Linked DNA regions of Homo sapiens: regions 1, 2 and 4 are each linked to region 3. Evidence: promoter capture Hi-C in 16 types of primary human blood cells and fetal thymus (Javierre and others, 2016). All regions are on one chromosome and are shown on one strand. The core of a region is centred on a gene start or on the middle of the fragment in contact, and the rest is flanking DNA. Distances in the headings are between cores, read along the strand shown.

Region 1 (3,335 bases), core at 394-2,893, 580 kb before region 3:
TAATATGGTTCAGAATGATTCCAGCTTTAGGGTGGGAAGGAGGGCTGGTTAAGATGGAATAATGAATCAAATGGTGGTTATGCTGTTGCTAGGACTTCTGAGCTTACAGCAAGATACCAGAGGGTCTTGCTGGCTCTATCCCAATGTGCGTCACCCATTTCTTTTCAACCCCCACCAAATGACCGAGGCAAAAATGCCTTCAAGGGCAGGAATCTGAGTTCCCATTGGCTCTACTTTTCCAAGATCCACTTCTAGACTTATTCTTTGTGGCTACATAGAAATACATGAATTAAGTTCTGAGGTTCTAAGTGGTTGCAGAACTAGCTGGGATTGCCCACAGTCATTCATCAGTGAAGATGCATCATGGCTATTTACAATTATTTTTCCTTCTGGAAAGCTAACCCAGGGAAGGGAAAGGACAGCACAGCCCCAGAGCCTACACAAGCTGCTTTCCACATGTATTTTGTAGTTTTAATCCTCACAACAAGCCTAAGAGTTGAGCCGTTTGTCTACCTGTGGCAGACAAGGGTTAGAAGCTTAATAATTTTCTATGGGTCACACAACCTATATGAAGGGGAGACAGGACCTGTGCACAGATCTGTTTAATTCCTAACGTAATGCTTTTATTCTCTCCTAAAAAGGGCAGCTCTGCTAATTACAGGCTCTGAATTTTTTTTAGGACATCGACTTTCTTTTAAAGAAGCAATGTCTAAAAATAAAGCAGGTTAACCTGTGTGCTTGCATATGAGAATGAGGAGAGAGAAAGAGAGAGAGTGCGTGTGTGTACGCGTGCGCGCGTGCGCACGTGTGCGCGCAGAAGCATGCATGAGAAAAAGAAAGAGAGATAGGGAGGTATTTCTTCTTTCATATACAAAGCAGCAGCCCCTCCTCTGTCTTTTTCATTCCAGTGTAATCTATGCACATGCAAAATAATTACTTCTTCCTGTAGGAAGTGTCAGTCCTCCAAGCAAAGAAGAAAAGGCTACAGCATATGTTACCGACACATGTTTTTGCTAGTCTTGTCTCTGTTCCGCCTGCTGTGGCAATCAGCTTTTGCAAATACTGTCACTTACCAAATACAAAAAGCATGTGCATGCCCAGCCAATGGCCTGGGATAAACACAGCCAGGCTTTCTGACTTGGAACATCCACCCAGGACAGGGGTTTTGTTTCCAAAGAACAAAACCAGCCTTGTATCATCAAAATCAGTGGTGGGGAGGGAGAGAGGGCAGTTACGATAGAGGAAAGACATGGACCCAACCCAACAAACTGCTTCAGGGTCTGCCTCATACATATGAAGGAAAATTGATAGTATTTGATAGGAGGTCTGCTCAATTCAGCCAAAGGAAAGATGGGCAGGGCTCAAAAACACTGCTGGAGAAGTTGGTATCTGGCCAAATGGCTAAGTAGCCAGTCGGGGGTCTAAGAAGCACATGCACAGAAGGGCTTTGAGCTCTGCCTCTTGGCAGGATGCCCACCCATCAAGTTCTTCCAGAGTGGGGAGTTGGCAATGCGCACTCCTAATCCCAGAAGCACTTGACAGGTAGGCTTGCTGCCGAGAGCCCCCCTTTCTGTCCCCTCAGGTGCCAGACTCTGCACTGTGGCCGCAGCAGCTACAAGCGCTACCATGAGACAAAGGAGAAGAGTCTGGCACCTGTGGTGGGGAGCCTGTCATCTTGTGGTGGGACATTTGCCTGGTACTTCCTGGCCTGGCAAATGTGCCACTGAGGGGAGCACTGTCCCTGGTGGGCAGACTGTGGCAGGAATTGGCTGGGGTCAAGAGGGCACAGCTCTGGAGATCTCCAACCTGCCATGAGTCCAGCACTTTCCAGAAGGCAGCCTCTAAGTATATTTAAATAATAAGCAGGAAGAAATGGTGGACATTTGTGGTGTCTAGGGAAAGGAAAAGAACAACTTCACTTAAAGATACAGTCACAAGAGAGAAATCTGAACTGAGTGTACACCCCTGAGGAACTCTGGAATATCTGAGAAAGCATCAAGGATTTCATTTGCATAAGGACATCTGAGCCTTCTGGAAGAAATGTTATAGAGGACTTTTAGAGCTGACAGCTTGATTCTGCAATCCTAGATCTAAGATTTCTGAAGTAAGAATGAAAACCAAAGTTATCTAACCCTAGGGGACTGAGTCATGGGAGAAAGCACCCACCAAGGTAGGGGTGAGAGGACATGGCCTTCCTTCTGGGTCCTAGGCCTTATTGCTAAGGGACATGTTCATTTATCCTTCCAATATTCTCCTTTTCAGTAGCAGAGAATGCAGGCATACCTCCTTTTATTGTGCTTTGCTTTATTGCACTTTGCAGGTAGTGTGTTTTTTACAAATTGAAGGTTTGTGGCAACAATATCTATGTGCCATTTTTCCAACAGCATGTGCTCACTTCATGTCTCTGTGTCATGTTTTGATAATGCTTGCAATATTTCAAACTTTTTCATTATTATTTTATCTGTTGTGGTGGTCTGTGACCAGTAATCTTTGATGTCACTATTTTAATTGCTTTGAGGCACCACAAGCCATGCCCATGTAAGATGGAAAACTTAATTGATAAATGTTATGTGTATTTTAATGGCTCCAATGACTGGCTTTTCCCCATTTCTCTCCTTCTCCTTGGGTCTCCCTATTTCCTAGACACGATATGGAAATTGGACCAATTAATAACCCTACAATGGCCTGTAGGTGTTCAGGTGAAAGAAAGAGTCACACACCTTTCACTTTAATTCAAAAGCCACAAATGATTAAGCTTAGTGAGGAAGGCATGTCGAAAGCTGAGACACGCCAAAAGCTAGGGCTCTTGCACCAGTTAGCAAAGGTATAAATGTAAAGGAAATGTTCTTGAAGGAAATTAAAAGTGCTACTCCAGTGAGCAAAAGAACGAAAAGAAAGTGAAACAAACTTATTACCTATATGGAGATATACAGAGTGATGAATGTTGTTTTCTTGCCTGCTAACACAACACCCATTCTGCAGCCCATGTGTCAAGCAGTAATTTTGACTTTCAAGTCTCATTATTTAGAAAGTACATTTTGTAAGGTGATAGCTGCCATAGATAGTGATTCTCTCTGATGGATCTGGACAAAGTATATTGAAAAGCTTCTGGAAAGGATTCACTATTCTGGATGCCATTAAGGGCATTTGTGATTCATACCAGGAGATCAAAACATCAACATTAATGGGAGTTTGGAAGAAGCTGATTCCAGCCCTCATAGATGACCTTGAGAGGTTTAAGACTTCAGTGAGAAAGTCACTGCAGATGTGGTGGGAATAGTAAGAGAACTTGAATTAGAAGTGAAACCTGAAGATGGCACCGAATGGCCACAATC
Region 2 (2,982 bases), core at 123-2,622, 760 kb after region 3:
CAATTTAAAGAGAATGTCTCTGTCTTATTTTTATTTCCTCACATGCCTCAATCTACCTTCTGCAGAGAGAAATCATCGGTTGTTCCTTCTTCTCTTCATACCATTTACCATAACTGATAATTAAGTATGATTACCATTTTTAGTTTTTTTCATACAAAAATCAAATACACAAGAGAGCAGAATTGTATTTGTTAGGTTCACCTTGTTATCTTGAGTACAACATACAACCTGGTTTACAGAAAGTTTATTTTTACTTATATCTTGAATATAATATTGATGGATAAATGAAGTGTACCAGTTATTCTGTAATCAGGTTGCACAATTAGGCTTGGAATTTCATTTTAAAGAATAAACAAGTACAAAAGTTTCCATAGCAAAAGTTCAATGAACAACACAAAATAAATTTACCAAATACAAAGAACATATTTTATTACATTAACCACTGTGCAAAGGTGCACATGACATAATATGAACAAAAATAAGTTGTTTTATAAATAGTTAAATAAATAATATTTTAAAAATATTTAAATAGATAATGGATCAGTCAGCATGGTCCTCTGTAAGGGACTAGTGCCTTAAGAGCTGAATACAATGTTGATTAATACTCCTAAAAACATTTGAAAAGATTTAAATCGTGTCATGGTCATAGCAGAAACATGAGTCTTTGAAATGGCAGATCATAAAAAGGTGAGCTGGCATACGAATCAATGAAAATCATTTCCATGTTGAACCAGTTTTCATTCCTTACTTCTTAAACTTTCTTGCAAGTTTGTTGACAAAGAAAAAGATCTCATGATTTCTGCTCTGACAACCTCCCAGGCACAAGGGCTGTATTTCTTCTCTTTCAGATAGAGAGTGATTCTTTGGAAGTATTTCCTCACAGCCAGAATGGAGTCCTCCTTCATCAGGGGAGTCTCTGTCACCCCCACCCCCTGTATCACACAGGCTTCCAGGTCATTCAGCTGCTGGTAGAGTTCAGTGTAGAATTTGTCTAGGAGGGTCTCATCCCAAGCAGCAGATGAGTCCTTTGTGCTGAAGAGATTGAAGATCTGCTGGATCATCTCATGGAGGACAGGGATGGTTTCAGCCTTTTGGAACTGGTTGCCAAACTCCTCCTGGGGAAATCCAAAGTCATGTCTGTCCTTCAAGCAGGAGAAAAGAGAGATTCTCCTCATCTGTGCCAGGAGCATCAAGGTCCTCCTGCTACCCAGGCTGTGGGTTTGAGGCAGATCACAGCCCACAGAGCAGCTTGACTTGCAGCTGAGCACCAGGAGGGCCACCAGTAAAGCAAAGGTCAAGGCCATTGTAGATGTTGCAGATGCTGCTAGACTGGTTGAAATGGGTGAGCCTAAACCTTAGGCTCCAGGTTCTCTGAAGACCTTGCTTTGTGCCTAGCCTTAAATAGGGAACATACTCGTTTACATTTTCCAAATGCCCCTGTGTTACTTTCTACTTCTCTTTTTGCTTTCTTTATGCACTCTTTACATGGGTTTTCAGCTGTTTTTCTCACCACATTTTTTTCATTATTGTTTCCTTCCTCTTTTACCCCAGAGCCTTTTTAGAAACTTTTTTCTGATTGAATCTCCCATTATATTTTAATCACATATACACTGTGTATCTATTTACATATCCTATGTATATCTCTATTCTATACATTAAATTAAAAAGTATAAAGTTAATGTTTTATTATTGCAAAGAATGATAAAACAATTAAAAATTAAATTAAAAGGCTATTGACATTTTACTTAACTTGATAACTATATTCTTAGAGCAACTTTTTTGAAAATAGATTTTTGTGGGTACATAAGAGGCGTCTGTGTTTATGGAATAAGTGAAATATTTTTATATAGGCAGACAATTCATAATAATCACAGCAGGGTGAATGGAGTATCCAATGCTTCAAACATTTATCATTTCTCTCTGCTACATACATCCCATTTATACTATTTTAGTTATTTTATAATATATAATAAATTATCATTAACAGTAGTCATCCTATTGTGCTATCGAATACTAAATCATATTCATTTTTTCTAACTATATTTTTGTGCCCGTTAGCCATCTCCATTTTCCCCCATATGATCCAGCAATCCCACTACTGGGTATTTATCCAAAGGAAATGAAATCAGTATGTCAACAAAATATTTACACTCCCATGTTTATTGCAGCACTATTCACAATAGCTAAGATTTGGAAGCAACTTAGGTGTCTAACAGATGAATGGATAAAGAAAATATGGCACTTATACACAATGGAGTACTACTTAGCCATAAAAAAGAATGAGATCCTGTCATTTGCAAGAACATGGATGGAGCTGGAGGACATTATGTTCATTGGACAACATTAAACCCATTGATCTGCACATACCTAACCACACTTGAATCTCTAGGACAAATTCCACTTGGTCATGATGAATGATTGTTTTAATGTGTTCTTGAATTCAGTTTGCTAATTTGTTGTTGAGGATTTCTGCATCAATGTTCATCAGAGATATTGGCCTACAGTTTTCTTTCTTTTTAATGTGTCTTTCTCTGGTTTTATATGTGATTAAAATATAATGGGAGATTCAATCAGAAAAAACACTGGCCTCATAGAATACATTTGGAAAGATTCTGTCCACCTCTATTTTTTTAATAATTTGAGTTGGATTGGTATTAGTTTTTTAAATATTTGGCAAAATTCATCAGTGAAGCCATCAGATCCTGAGTTCTTTTCTGGGATACTTTTTAGTATGGCTTCTGTCTCATTACTTGTTATTGGCCTGTTCACATTTTGTATTTCTTCATGGTTCCATGAAGAAATACAAAAACCATGAAGAAATACAAGAATGGTTCTAGAAACAATTCTTGTATTTCTTCATGGTACTATGAAAAAATACAAAACCTGAACAGACCAGTATGTTGTATGTTTCTAGGAATTATCTATTTTGTTCAGGTTTTCCAATTTATTAGCATATAGTTTCATAGTATCTTCTAATGATCC
Region 3 (3,320 bases), core at 84-2,583:
GAAACAAATCAGAAGGCGATGCCGGGGCGGTTTCCCGGCGTGGGAGGGGAGGTGGCTGGGACCCAGGGGGACCGAAGGGCTCCTGGCGAGCCCCCTCCCCGAAAGTACCGCGGCGACAGGCACACGCCGAGGAAGTCTTTGTGTACGTGTGTGTGCGTGCGTGTGGAGCGCTGTGCCAGGCGAAATGGAAACTACAGGCAGCCTCTGCTGATGGGCACAAACTCCCGTGCTCTTGCCACGGGGTTCGTGCACAACAAAAATGAGACGTCGTCATACACACTGAAACACACACACACGCCCGCAGGAAAACACGCCGAGGCATCCATAACTTAGAGCACCCCGCACCCCCCAGCGAAAAGCCCCACGCGATCGGCGAGGCCAGTCGAACCGAGCCCCCGCAACACACTTTCAAGAGCCCAAGTGGCTCCAAAGTATCTCCCACCTCCCCCCAAAAAATGAAATTCAGAAAGGCAGGGCGGCGGGCGGACAGCCGCCGAGCCTCGGCTCGCGCTCAGCACCTCCCGGCGCTGGGGCAAAGTTGCGTGCGGCCCCGCCGCTGTCAGCCCCGCACACTTCGGCTCACACACGCGCGCCGCGGAGAACGCACCATCGTAGCGGCCGCGGCGCTTTGCGGAGGTGCGGCCGCCGAGGCTGCTCGCCGCGTCCCCGGACTGTGCCCGCAGCTCCCGGCGGCGGCGGCTGAAATATGGCTGAGTTATTATTCGCCTCCTTCCACCGTGTGTGTGTGTGTGTGTGAGTGCGCGCGTGTGAGCGAGAGGGAGTGTGTGAGTGCGCTTCTTGTGACTGCAAAGAGGCGAGGAGGGAGGGAGGCGCGGGGGGTGGAGGGGCGAGTGTGAGCGTGTGTGAGTGTGTGTGTGTCTGTGTGTCTGTGTGCGCGCCGGGGGGGGGTGGGGGAGGAGGGGAGCGGAGGCTGAGGGAGAGGCGGCAGCTCCCTGCAAGCCGTACCAACCTTTCTCTAATTGGAACCGCGGAGCGCTGGCGCTGTCTGGGCTGCGGCGGCGCAGGGCGAGGAAGGAAAGTGGGGGAGGGCTTTTATTATTATTTTTGCGCGTACTTACCGAGCTAGCCATGCCTGGGGGCCCGGAGGTTTGCTGGGGTGTTGTGTGGTACCCCCCCCTCCTCCGCCCCCCCTCAGCTGTAATTCATGAAGAGGCTGCTATGAATGAGAGCGCGCCCAGGAGCGGAGGGTAGATGGCGGACATTCTCTGCCTTTTTCCCCCCGCGCTCGCTTGCTCGCTCGCTCGCTTATTAAACTCAGCCCCAAAAGCAAAAGCAGCAGCAGCAGCAGCAGCTCCAGGGTAAAGAAGATGATTGCGGAGCATGCGCCGTGGCGCCTGACACCCGGGCTCCGAGCCTCACAGGGCGGAGGGAGGGCTTGCGGGCGGGGCGGAGCGCGCGGGGAGGCAGAGCGAGCGAGCCAGGGGGAGCTCGAAAGAGCCAATCACCTGCCACCTCCCGAAACCCCGGCGGCCCGCAGCGCCACACTGGAAAGCCTCGCTTAAAGTAACAGGTTCCTGCTGGGGGGGTGGCAGGGAGGGGACGCAGGAGTGGGGAGAGCGGCCAGCTGGGGAGCCATCCCAGCCCCTGTGTAAACTCTGCTCGCCCTACAATAAAAAACGGATTAAAACTGCTGGAATGTAGCCACTGCTTAGAGCCCTCAGCAGCCGGAGAGGGGGTGTTAAATCAAGTCCTTAGCTAGTACGCACGGGGAGGAGGGAGTGGGCTTTCTTTTACTTTCCACCACGTATTTCTGTGGTTTTGTGCTGAAAAGACAAGAACTCACACCCAAACAAACTTACTTAAAGAGAGCGAGAGAAATGCCATCCTGCAAAAAACGAGCATGAAAATAGCAATGACTGAGGCTGTTCTAACCCGCAACGATCCCCTGGCCCCCTGCCCCATCCACTCACAGGCACCCGCCCGCCACCCTCACTCCCCGCCCTTCTGCCACCGCCACCGAAAATTTGAAAATGAAATGAACAAGGGAGAAACAAGGATGCTATTTCCTTGCAAGGGAACGCCTTCCGCTTTGGTAATCCCCGGCTGGGAAGCTTCATAAAGCGGTGCCCAGGTGAAAGCAAGACACCTGGGAGTGCCGGGTACAGACCCTCGGGGACCAGGCTTGGAGTTGTTTTCTTCGGGGGGCTTCCCCTCCTGACAGCCTACTGAGTTGCATCAGAACGTGGAGGATTGTCCTCTGAGGACGCGCGGGGCAACCGGGAGTCTTAAAATAGCAGATAAAGTTAATACTGACTGTAATGTGCGTAAATTGGATTATAATCTTTAGGCGTATTGGTGACAACCAGCGTAATCCATCTCTGAGTATTAATCCGGTTAGACTCCCGGGTGACAGCCAGTCGCAGGAGTGTTCCCAGAGTCGCGCCTCTGCAAATGTTCTCACTCGCGTTGTATTTGATCTCAGTGGCCGGAGATAGAACAGCGCGGCCACGCGTGGGGCGCGGAGAGGAGTATCAACTACTGGCTTCCTTTACAGACGCAGATAACCTTTAAAAAGGAAACGGATAAGATCTAGACGATTGATTTGAAAGTGAAAGATGGATGTGACTTTGGTTCGTTAAAAAAAGATCCTTGCATCTTCCTAGCCCTTAGACCTCTTTTGCCTTCTCTTTACTCCCCTTTTTCCCTCGCCTTCCAACTTCTTGCTGAACCTTGATTTTTCCTTCTCTTCTCCTTGCCTTTCCTCTTTGTCCCTCTTTCTTTCCTCTTTGTCCCTTTCTTTCCTCTTTGTCCCTTTCTTTCCTCTTTGTCCCTCTTCCTCTTTCTGACTGAACTTCCTTGCTTTCCTCTTTTCCCTTTACTTCCCTTTTCCACAAAAGCAAGTTGTCTCGGCCCTTGAATTGAGAAGAGCAGAATAGCGGGGAGGACGTTACCTAGGGCGTCCTGTGTCCTCGCTGTTAATTTTCAGTTCTCCCAGCAGCTCTCACAAAGATCCTGGGAATCAGGTCGGACCACTTGGAACCAACCTTAGTTTCCAAACCAGCAGCCTTCCAACTCAACTTTTGATTCCCTAAAACTGATATTCCGCTGCCTGTCAGTTATAATCAAGAAACTTCTTTGGCTTGAGGTCCCCAGTTCTTCCCAGCCTTCTACAGGATTTAGCATAGAATGGAGCAAACGACTGAAGGTAGAAACATTTTAATCTAAATCCAAGGGCTTAGATTTGTCAACTGACACACATATACATAACTGCATATCATCCTGTAGGTATATGCGTCGCTGTGTCTGTATGTATGTACAAGGACTACGTTTATATTCGCAGAGACAAGCTGTGTGGGTAG
Region 4 (2,857 bases), core at 54-2,553, 650 kb before region 3:
AAGAATTTCCACCACCTGCTTGCTGAAGCCACAGCACAGCTCCACTCATAATCACCATGCAGGGGGCAGCATTAGTTAATGTCATTAGACAAATGTTGCCATCTCCTTGTGCATGTTCATTAGCACCAGGTGGGAAAATACAGGCATGGAAATTTTGGGTTGATTCAGGCTTGGACATTATTTATTCAGCTAACTTTCTGAGCATCCTTGAAAAACCAAAAAGGTTGGATTTGAAATAACTTTTTTAAAAACATACTTCAGGGGCAGTGTCAGAGTTCAACTTCACTAATGGAAGTAGAGGGTTACTTTCCCAGAGGTATGGCATTGGGTAAGTTGCTTACTCTCTTGGTTTCCCCACCTATAAAATAGGGAGGATAATTTTATCTACCTTATAGGGTTTGTATTCAGATTAAATGAGTTGATACAAATAAAGCACTTTGAACAGAGCCTGGTTTGTTTTCATCATCATAATCTTCATCATCATCTTTGTTATGCTAACTCTGCTTTCCATTGTTCATCTGAGCACACCAGGGAGCCCACAGGGACCCACATGGGCCACAGAGAGTAATTTGACTCTGAAACACAGCAGCTTTTGTTTTCTTTTCTTTTTAACCTACATCCTTGGAGCACTTACTAAGTGCCAGTCACTATGCTAAACTGTTTGCAAACATTTTCTCATGCAAACCTCACAACAAGGCTAACAAGATAGATACAAAACTGTATTACAATTTCCATTTTATAGATGAGGAAATTGGAATTTGGAGAAGTTAATTTGCTTATAGAAATAAGGTCCACAGACTCTAAGAAGTGGATAGACTTGTATTTCATACTAACTTTGTTTTAGGTGTTATATTGACCTCAAGACCAATTATGAAACAAATATTTAGAGCTGGAAAGCCTTTCCCATTCATGTAGTGCACATGTAGGAGTTAAGACTTAGAGAAGTTAAGGACTTCACCCAAGGTCACACAGCCAGCTGTGACTAGCTGGCATCAGAACATTTACAGAGGTCCTTGGCCCTCTAATGCTCTGCTTTTTCTCTATATATTATTTTACGTCATTAACAGATTGCTCCAAATGTGAAAATATTCAAACTGTGCATTCATCTCAAGGCATGAGTTTCTGCAGCAAGGAAATCATTTATATAAATGGAAAATTAACTGAAGGGAGAAAAGAAATACTTGGGATAGGTTTTTGAAATTTAAACACAATTGCTTAAGTAACATCTTAAAAGATGGCATTAAAGTCATACCCCAGAAGCCACAAATATGATAATAAAAGGTTTACAGTGGCTGTTCTACCAGACATTCTTCAATCCCATTTTCTTTCCAGTGTTTATAACTAGCACGGAACTGAGGCAATTAAGAACAGCTTTCTTTCAGCTTCTCTAAGGCTTCTTGTGTTTTAAACCTGAATTCCTGAGGCCAGGGAGGAAAAGGGAATTCCCTAACCTCTGCGTCCGCCACCTCCTTTGCCACACACACACACACACACACACACACACACACACACACACACTTCTTCCTCCCAGAATGAAGAATTTCCTTCATTCTTTTCCTTTTTCATCTCTTCTGTCTCACAGCCTCCACTCCCTCCCCCAAAACCTAAACTTCAGAACTTGGCTCAGTGACATTCCCTCAAGATCAAAGTTAAATGATAATTTCCATAAAAACCAAAGTCATTTCAGTCTCACTATCTCTCTGAAAGTCTGAGTCTCATGCCAATAAAGCACAAAAAAATTCCACACTCCCTTTCTCTTCAATATGAAAGTCCATGCTCCCTCTTCCTTTCTTCTGGTGTCTCTTCACTCCTCACACATTACTGCTTTTCTGCAGAGATGTCCACAGTAAGTTCCACCTTCTAATTTAAGATTTAGCTACTTCCAGTGCCTCTTTTTCTCTCCTGGATAGGCAATGCCTGTGAGGATTGAGGCTACAGTAGTAAGAAAAGAACCAAGAAGCAAGGCGGTAGAAAGTTGGAAGACAGAGAGAGAGAGCAGTGATGAAGAGGGGATTGTAGGAAATTCACATAATTACTTCAAATATTAAAGATCATAGAGCTTGTAAGTGACTTGGTTAAAATACTAACTCAAGGCTTTTTGACCTGAGTCAAACAAAATCCAATTGTTGAGAATATCATAACAAAAGGGATGAAGACTGGTCCCAATAGGAGTTATGAGCTATACTAGGGATTGCAATATAAAGTGTCTGTGCAAGAGTGTGAGTCAGTGACATAAATATGGGGAAGAGTGGGAGAGACTACAGGACATCATGATACCACCTTTACATATTTCTGTGGCCTTGCTTCACACATCTTCAGAAGGAATCCTCTACCTGACCTTATTCAGCACAAATAATGGGCTGAGAGCAACAGCAAGCAAGCTGCAGTCTGGACAAGGCCCCTTCCCTTCTCACTGCCCCCATCACCCCTCCACGCATAACCACAGATATGACCAGGTAGCTCCTTTATTGCAAGGTGAATGAGGAGGTTCTGATTTTCCCCTGAAAGTGGAAGGGAACCCTTTCTGAAATCACTGATATTTTTCAGGAATCCTTCCACAAAGTCACTAACTGGAGAGTTAACTGATAGCAGGGGGAGTACATATTTCCCTTTGTCTAAGATGTCACCAAGTTTTATGTAAATTAAAATAATTGTCTCCCTCAAGAAATGGAAATAGTAATACTCCATTTAGTTGTGAAGTAACTTCAGAAAGAGAAAATACAGGTGTGTGAGTGTTTTTTCTTTTTCTTATTTGAAAGGAAAATATCAAATTCCTAACACAGAAAATCTCCCTGAGAGTCTGCCTCCAGTAGGAAAGCTTATTTTGAATTCTGCAAGTTTTATGAGAAAAGCATTA

The links. Contacts are between HindIII fragments. The CHiCAGO score rates a contact against its expected background, and 5 or more counts as called.
Region 1: a contact is called between a fragment that was not itself captured here and the fragment with the promoter of MLLT3 in region 3, in 4 of 17 cell types (non-activated CD4 T cells, total B cells, naive CD8 T cells and 1 more). The highest score is 6.9, in non-activated CD4 T cells.
Region 2: the fragment with the promoter of IFNA2 here is called in contact with the fragment with the promoter of MLLT3 in region 3 in 2 of 17 cell types (total B cells and monocytes); the score reaches 8.6 in total B cells.
Region 4: a contact is called between a fragment that was not itself captured here and the fragment with the promoter of MLLT3 in region 3, in 1 of 17 cell types (naive CD4 T cells). The highest score is 5.1, in naive CD4 T cells.

The regions. Positions count from the first base shown.
Region 1 is chr9:20,040,365-20,043,699 of GRCh38, forward strand. It overlaps a transcript of SLC24A2 not described here. Among named protein-coding and RNA genes, the nearest start is that of SLC24A2, 250 kb to the left of the region's middle. The HindIII fragment of the contact is 2,219 bases long and covers 535-2,753 here.
Region 2 is chr9:21,384,026-21,387,007 of GRCh38, forward strand. It overlaps IFNA2 (interferon alpha 2), which reads right to left and starts at 1,373. Exons shown (of 1, transcript NM_000605.4): 1 at 230-1,373. The coding sequence starts at 1,304. The coding sequence ends at 738. The HindIII fragment of the contact is 9,842 bases long and covers 1-2,982 here.
Region 3 is chr9:20,621,166-20,624,485 of GRCh38, forward strand. MLLT3 (MLLT3 super elongation complex subunit) reads right to left here and starts at 1,334. Exons shown (of 11, transcript NM_004529.4): 1 at 1,080-1,334. The coding sequence starts at 1,091. RefSeq lists silencers at 623-672, 743-892, 1,313-1,772, 1,793-1,932. The HindIII fragment of the contact is 2,564 bases long and covers 1-2,070 here.
Region 4 is chr9:19,967,709-19,970,565 of GRCh38, forward strand. It overlaps a transcript of SLC24A2 not described here and the pseudogene GLRX3P1. Among named protein-coding and RNA genes, the nearest start is that of SLC24A2, 180 kb to the left of the region's middle. RefSeq lists an enhancer at 1-801. The HindIII fragment of the contact is 3,026 bases long and covers 1-2,816 here.